Linked DNA regions of Homo sapiens: region 1 is linked to region 2. Evidence: promoter capture Hi-C in human tissues and cell types (Jung and others, 2019). All regions are on one chromosome and are shown on one strand. The core of a region is centred on a gene start or on the middle of the fragment in contact, and the rest is flanking DNA. Distances in the headings are between cores, read along the strand shown.

Region 1 (3,872 bases), core at 614-3,113, 450 kb after region 2:
AGTGGTGCGATCTAGGCTCACTGCAAGCTCCGCCTCCTGGGTTCACGCCATTCTCCTGCCTCAGCCTCCGGAGTAGCTGGGACTACAGGTGCCCGCCACCACGCCCGGCTAATTTTTTGTATTTTTAGTAGAGACGGGGTTTCACCATGTTAGCCAGGATGGTCTCAATCTCCTGACCTCGTGATCCACCCGCCTCGGCTTCCCAAAGTGCTGGGATTACAGGCATGAGCCACCGTGCCCGGCCTCATGAACCCTTCTTTGAGCTTAATTTGCTAATGCACCTCTCAAAACTCAGGGGAGCTGTTACTTACGTTTACCAGCTTATTAGAAAGGATTTTACAAAGGAGGCAGATGAAGACATGTGTAGGGTGAGGGATGTGGGAAGGGGCACAGAGGGTTCCGTGCTCTCCCCGGGCTGTGACGTCTCCAGGAACCTCCACGCATTCATCTGTGGGGAAGCTTCCATCCCAGTCCTCCGGGTTTTACCTCAGCTTCCTCGCAGAGGCTTGGGTGACCTCACTGCATTGGCCTGGGTGATCAAGTCAGCCTTCAGCCACATGCCCCTCCCCTCCCGTCCAGCCTGGGTCTTTTCAGTGAGCAGCCCTATTCCCTCAGCTCCCGAGGGGCTGCCAAGCCCTTAGTCACCTCATTAGCACACTGGAGAATTCCGAGGATCTGGGGGAGTCGTAGGCCAGGAAACAGGACAAAATGTATTTCACAGTCTCACTGGGCCGGTCCCTTGCCTCCGCTTCCTTGTCTGTGATGAGAGGACGGGAGGGTGGCTGTCTGGACAGTGCTGAAGTGGTAGAGGTGAGTCGCTGCCGTGGAGGGCTTGGCAGGGTGCTCTGTGAAGGGCCCTGTGGCCTGGGGTGGAAGCCGCTTGCAGAGTGCTGGTTCTTTGCCTAAGGATGGTGGGGCAGGGGGGCCGTGTTCACACGTGCTGTTGGCTGTGTCTGCCAGTCTTCCTTTCTTTTTTCTGTTTCTGTTTCTTTTTCTTTGTTTTTTTTTGTTTGTTTGTTTGTTTTGAGACAGAGTCTTGCTCTGTCGCCCAGGCTGGAGTGCAGTGGCACGATCTTGGCTCACTGTAACCTCCGTCTCCCAGGTTCAAGCGATTCTCCTGCCTCAGCCTCCCCCAGTAGCTGGGATTACAGGCATGCACCACCACGCCCAGCTAATTTTTTTGTATTATTAGTAGAGACAGGGTTTTACCATGTTGGCCAGGCTAGTCTTGAACTCCTGACCTCAGGTGATCCGCCTGCCTCAGCCTCCCAAAGTGCTCGGATTACAGGCATGAGCCACCATGCCCAGTCTTCTTCTTCTTCTTCTTCTTTTTTTTTTGTGAGATGGAGTTTCACTTTGTTGTCCAGGCTGGAGTGCAAGGGCACGATTTTGGCTCACTGCAACCTCTGCCTTCTGGGTTCAAGCGATTCTCCTGCCTCAGCCTCCTAAGTAGCTGTGATTACAGGCATGCGCCACTGTGCCCGGCTAATTTTTGCATTTTTAGTAGAGATAGGGTTTCACCTTGTTCACCAGGCTGGTCTTGAACTCCTGACTTCAGGTGATCCACTCGCCTCGGCCTCTCCGAGTGCTGGGATTATAGGCGTGAGCCACGGTGTCTGACTCAGTCTTCCTTTTCATGTCATCCCTTGTTAATTTCCTTTAGAAACAGTTTGGGCCAGGTGCAGTGGGTGGCTTATGCCTGTCATCCAAGCGCTTTGGGGGGCTGAGGTGGGAGGATCACTTGAGGCCAGGAGTTCAAGACCAGGCTGGGCAACATAATGAGACCCAGTCTCTACAAAAAAATTAAAAGCTTAGCTGAGCATGGAGGTGGCACCTGTAATCCCAGCTACTTGGGAGGCTGAGGCAGAAGGATCGCTTGAACCCAGGAGGTTGAGGCTGCAGTGAGCCACGATTGCACCAGTGTGCTCCAGCCTGGGCAAAAGAGTGAGACCCTGTCCCCGCCCCACAAAAAGAGGGTCAGAACCTTGGTGTTAGAGCAGTTCACTTCCACCCAAAAACAGGGACTTAGAAAGGGAGACACTTGTGTGGAGCCCGAGGCAGACATGCCCTGACTTAGCAGTGCAGGTTTCTGTACTGGAATGAGGGCCTGGGGCAGGTGGCCTCTGGCAGGATGCATCTGTTACCTGAGTCTGAAGGCAGCGTGGCGAGGAGATGGGAGGGCTGTGCCTGGGATCCTGGGGCCGTGGAGAGCTCATCTAGAGGTCATGAGTATTGGGCAAAGCTCACATGCCGTGTTTTAATACTGTCATTATGGAAGTTGGCCTGGGGGTAATCCAGTGTCTCTTTTAGATCTGTGTTGTACAAACACTGAACTAGTTCTGGTCGCCTCTCCGGCCTTTGTTTTGGGGAGAATATTCGATGAGATGGCCCGTAATTCTAACACTGTGCATTTTGAAGGATATTTATAAACCCGGATGGATAAGGCCCTTCTTAGTGCTATTCTTGTGTTGGTTCCCTTTATTATTTTTTTTAAAAAACTTTATTATGGGCCGGGTATGATGGCTCACGCCTATAATCCCAGCACTTTGGGAGTCTGAGGTGGGCGGACCACCTGAGATCAGGAGTTCGAGACCAGCCTGACCAATATGGTGAAACCTCGTCTTTACTAAAAATACAAAAATTAGCTGGGCGTGATGGCGGGCGCCTGTAGTCCCAGCTACTAGGGAGGGGACAGGAGAATTGCTTGAACCCAGGAGGCGGAGGATGCAGTGAGCTGAGATTGTGCCGCTGCACTCCTGCCTGGGCGACAGAGTGAGACTCGGTCTCAAAAAATAGTAAAGCAAAAAATAAAAATAAAAACACTGTTATGGAGAATTTGACTACACAGAAAGGTAGACAACATGGAATAACGAGCCCCCCAGGCCCCTCACCCAGCCCCAAAACCATCAACCCATGGCAACCCCCCCTGCCCTACCCCCATCTGTGGTGAAATAGCCCTCATATTATTTTTGTTAACTTTTAATTTTTAAAGAATTACAGAGGCTGGGTGTGGTGGCTCACACCTGTCATCCAGGCACTTTGGGAGGCAGAGGTGGGAGGATCACTTGAGTCCAGTAGTTCGAGACCAGCCTGGGCAACACAGTGAGACCCTGTCGCTACAAAAGCAAAAATAAGAATGAATTATAGACTGCCAAGGTGTTGCAAAAATAATAAAGAGATTTCCCTAGGCTTCACCCTGCTGTCTCCAGTGGTAACATTTTACATAACTTTAGTGTCCCGTTAAAACTAGGAAATTGACACAGGACACTGTGGCTTCAGACCTTCCTCAGGCGTCCTCAGTGTTAGCACTGGCTCATTCTTTTGGTAGAGTCTTTGCGACATTCTGTTACCTGCACAGATTCCAGGAACCACCATTGCAATCAAGATACAGAACTGTTCTGTCAACACAAAGGAACGCTCTGCTTCTCCCTTCTGTCACCCCCAGGCCCTGGCGACGGCTGAGGATCTCTGCATCTCTGTAACCTTGCCCTTTTGAGAATGTTATGTAGATGGAATCACAGCGTATTTAACCTCTTGGGATTGGGTTTTTTCGCTTGCAATCTGTCGAAGTTGTTGTGTGTATCAGTAGTTACTTTCTTTTATTACTCAGTAGTTCTCCATACGGGTGTTGTTTTCTCATTCTGCTTATTTCTGTGAGACGGGTGGCAGTGGTAAGGTCCCATCTTTCATTCCCGATTTTAGCAATTTGAGTTCTCCAGAGATGGAGGACAAGATCCAAGGTTGCCAGGGCCTGGGGGCGACAGAGTGGAAGCAGAGTGAGTTCCTTTGTGTTGACGGAACAGCCCTGTATCTGATTGCAGTGGCGGTTCCAGGAATCTGTGCAGATAACAAAATGTCACGAAGACATTTAC
Region 2 (3,829 bases), core at 1-2,500:
AATACCTTCTGTCCCTGCTCCATGGGAGGGGCAGCCCTCACCTGCTGGTCCTGCTCCCACACACTGGATCTGGGGATCTGAGCCGCCTCTTCTTCAGACATCGTGCTGCAAACAGGGTCACCCTGCGGGGCAGGATTGAGTAAGGGGAGCACCTGCCCAGGCATCAGATCCTGTCAAATTGGGCTCTGTGACTTGAGCAACTCTCAAACCTCTTGGGGCCTCAGTTTCTTCATCTGCATAATGGGGCATTCTGTGGAGCTCAGACAATGCATGTCCAGAGCTCTGTACACAGAGGGTGTCCAATAATGAGCCTCTGGCAAGGTAGGGTTGCCGGAGTGACTCGAAGCATGGTCTCTGAGGTGAGAAAGACCTGGGTTCAAATGCTACCATTAATTGCGGTGTTATTTTTATTATTTTTTTAAAGACAGAATCTCTCTCGCCCAGGCTGGAGAGCAGTGGCGCCATCCCAGCTCACTGCAATTTCCGCCTCCCAGGTTCAAGTGATTCTCCTGCTTCAGCCTCCCAGTTAGCTGGGATTACCCACGTGCCACCATGCTCGGCTAATTTTTGTATTTTTAGTAGAAACCGGGTTTCGCCATGTTGCCCAGGCTGGTCTCAAACTCCTGGGCTCAAGTGATCTGCCCACCTCGGCCTCCCAAAGTGCTGGGATTACAGGCATGAGACACTGCACCTGGCCAGCTGTGTGATTTTTGGCAAGCACCTTCACCTCTCTGGGCTGCTTCCTGTTTTGTAAGATGTGGGAGGTCCCTGCTACCCCTGCGGCCCCTGCCTGGGCCCAGAACTGCCCAAGCACCCTAGACGGCTGGAGGTGGTAGCTGCTGGGTCCCAGTCCACTCACAGCTCATTTGACAGACAGGGCAACTGAGGTACGCAGCAGGTCCATGCTGGTCCCAAGGTCACGCAGCCAGCTAGAGTTACAGGGGGGGAGCTCGACCTCGGGCCTCAGACCTGCCGCCTGCGATCCCTCCGGTTGCCACCCCGCGTCCTCTGAGGCCTGGTCCTCGCCCAACTGGGTCCTGAGCTGGGGCCAACCGGGCCAAGGGTCCCAGCCACCTGCTCTGGCCGGTCATACCCGTCCCACGCCGCCGGACCTTCGCCCAACCACCCTATCTGGAGCTCCTCTCCTAAGCCCGGGGGGGCGCTCCCGGACGCCGCCCTCAGGGCACTCACCTGGGCGCGAGCGGCTTCAGACACCAGCTGTCTCCGCCGACCCCAGGCTCGAGTCTCCACACCCCCGCCGGTCCCGCCCGCCCTTCTTATAGCTGCTCGCGCAGTGGGGGCCTCCGGAACTGACCAATGGGGAGAGGCCGTGCGGGGGCGTGCCCAGGGGGCGTGGCTCCAGGCTTCCCTCGCCCTCTCCTTGAGCTGGCCCAGTGCCCTACGGTTGCCATAGTAATTCGGGAGCGCTAGATTCAAAAGATTGAGCTATTATACGTTCCCGGACCAAGTTTGGCCACCTGTCATCCTCACTGCTGTTGCCATAGAGACAGTCCATGCGATCACAGCCCCCATAGCCCTGCTGAGTGACCTTGGCCAACTCGCTGATGACTTTTCTTATTAATTATTATTATTTATCGATTTTTGAGACTGGGTCTTGCTCGGTTGCCCAGGGCTAGAGTGCAGTGGTGTGATCATAGCTCACTGCAGCCTTGCCCTCCCAGGCTGAGGTGATCCTCCCGCCTCAGTCTCCTAAGTAGCTGGGACCACAGGCACACACCACCACCCCCAGCTAACTTTTTAAACTTTTTGTAGAGACGAGATGTCCCTGTGTTGACCAGGCTTGTCTTCAACCCCTGAGCCCCAAGTGATCCTTCCACCTCAGCCTTCCAAATTGCTGGGATTACAGGTGTGAGCCATTGCACCCAGCCTCTTTTTATTTCTTAATCTGCCCCTTAACTAAGCCAGAAGCCAGGCCTTCCCTTTCCCTAGGATCCCCATTTCACAGATGAGCAAGCTGAGGCTCAGAGATCATAAAACACTTGCCCCGCATACCACAGCAAGTGAGGGATCCTATTCCTTTTTTTTCTTTTTTTTTTTTTGAGACAGAGTCTGACTCTGTCGCCCAGGCTGGAGTGCAGTGGCGCGATCTTGACACACTGCAACCTCCGCCCCCTGGGTTCAAGTGATTCTCCTGCCTCGGCCTCCGGAGTAGCTGGGATTACAGGCGCCTGCCACCACACCTAGCTAATTTTTGTATTTTTAGTAGAGACGGGGTGTCACCATATTCGTCAGGCTGGTCTTGGACTCCTGACCTCGTGATTTGCCTGCCTTGGCCTCCCAAAGTACTAGGATTACAGGCATGAGCCACCGTGCCCGGCCAGGGATCCTATTCAAACCCAGCCCTGCTGGACCTCAGAACCCTGCCTTTTCATTGCCTTGCCTGGAATGACCACAGATGTAGGCATGGTCTTTTTATTTTTATTTTTATTTTTGAGACACAGTTTCACTCTGTCGCCCAGCCTGGAGTGCAGTGGCGTGATCTTGGCTCACTGCAACCTCCGCCTCCCAGGTTCAAGTGATTCTCCTGCCTGACCCTCCCAAGTAGCTGGTATTACAGGCACGTGCCACTGTGCCTGGCTAATTTTTGTATTTTTAGTAGAGACAGGGTTTTGCCATGTTGGCCAGTCTGGTCTCGAACTCCTGACCTCCGGTGATCTGCCTGCCTCAGCCTCCCAAAGTGTTTGGATTACAGGCATGAGCCACGGCGCCAGGCTGCATGGTCATTTTTTAGGGAGCTGGGAAAACTGGACATGCCCCCAAGCCCCAGGGTCTTCCAAATCCGATTGCAGCCCCCACATGGCCAATGCTGTATCAGCAGGTGGGCCCGGGACCCTGCTCATCCCTTCAGCCCCATCCTGCCCCTGCAACCTTGCCCGGGGGCAGGTGCCCCCTTCGATGATCTCAGGTCAGCATGACAAATCGTTTGGAGACCTGGGCAATCTGGTTTAACTTAAACCTTCTCCTAGGACACAAGCCCTGGCAGAAATCCACTGGTAAAATGACACCCGGGCAACAGTCAAGGTTTTATTTCCAGTTAGGTCCCAGGATGGGGGAAGGGAGAGGAGAAGTCACAGGCCATTGATCCCAACTGTCATCCCCTAGGGAGACCATATCCCACACCCCAGGGCCTGGGCCATGCCTCTTTTCCTCCTTCACCCTGGAGTCCTGGGAAGTTGATTTGAGAAGATGCTAGGAACACAATGAAAGCCAATTCATCCGATCCAGTTTTCAAGGGTTATTTATTAAACCCCTTGGTTCTGACCCCAAGCTAAGTGGGACTCAGCATCAGACCCTGCACTCAGAGAGCCCCCTGACTTGGGGAAGACAGAGTCAGAGAAAGGCAGCCCCAGTGTGGCCAGGGCTCAGCTGGAAGGAAGGACAAGGGGCTGGGAGAACCCAGAGTTCAAGAGATCTGGGAAACAGGGAACGGCATTCCAGACGGAGGGCACACCTTGGGCATGGGTAAGGAAAGCCCATCGTGTGTTCTAGGAAGCATGGATGGATGAAACGGGGTCCCAGCCGCTATGGACAGCCCCGAGTTTCACCTGTAAAAGGCAGGATTATTTGTTTTTAATTTTAATTTTAATTTTTTTGAGACAGTCTTGCTCTGTCGCCCAGGCTAGAGTGCAGTGGCACGATCTTGGCTCACCGCAAGCTCCGCCTCCCAAGTTCACGCCATTCTCCTGCCTCAGCCTCCCGAGTTGCTGGGACTACAGGTGCCCACCACCACGCCTGGCTAATTTTTTATATTTTTAGTAGAGACAGGGTTTCACCATGTTAGCCAAGATGGTCTCGATCTCCTGACCTC

Evidence for each region. Contacts are between HindIII fragments. The study calls those that stand out against the background at their distance.
Region 1: a fragment that was not itself captured here is called in contact with the fragment with the promoter of PLIN5 in region 2 in 3 of the 25 tissues and cell types used here (dorsolateral prefrontal cortex, lymphoblastoid cells and spleen).

Annotation. Positions count from the first base shown.
Region 1 is chr19:4,988,331-4,992,202 of GRCh38, forward strand. The region is part of intron 1 of KDM4B (lysine demethylase 4B); the gene reads left to right. Among named protein-coding and RNA genes, the nearest start is that of KDM4B, 21 kb to the left of the region's middle. RefSeq lists enhancers at 211-716, 717-1,221, 1,438-1,939, 1,940-2,439. The HindIII fragment of the contact is 6,577 bases long and covers 1-3,872 here.
Region 2 is chr19:4,533,974-4,537,802 of GRCh38, forward strand. It overlaps PLIN5 (perilipin 5), which reads right to left and starts at 1,251. Exons shown (of 8, transcript NM_001013706.3): 1 at 1,192-1,251; 2 at 42-122. The coding sequence starts at 101. LRG1 (leucine rich alpha-2-glycoprotein 1) reads right to left here. Exons shown (of 2, transcript NM_052972.3): 2 at 2,429-3,829. RefSeq lists an enhancer at 402-957. The HindIII fragment of the contact is 58,476 bases long and covers 1-3,829 here.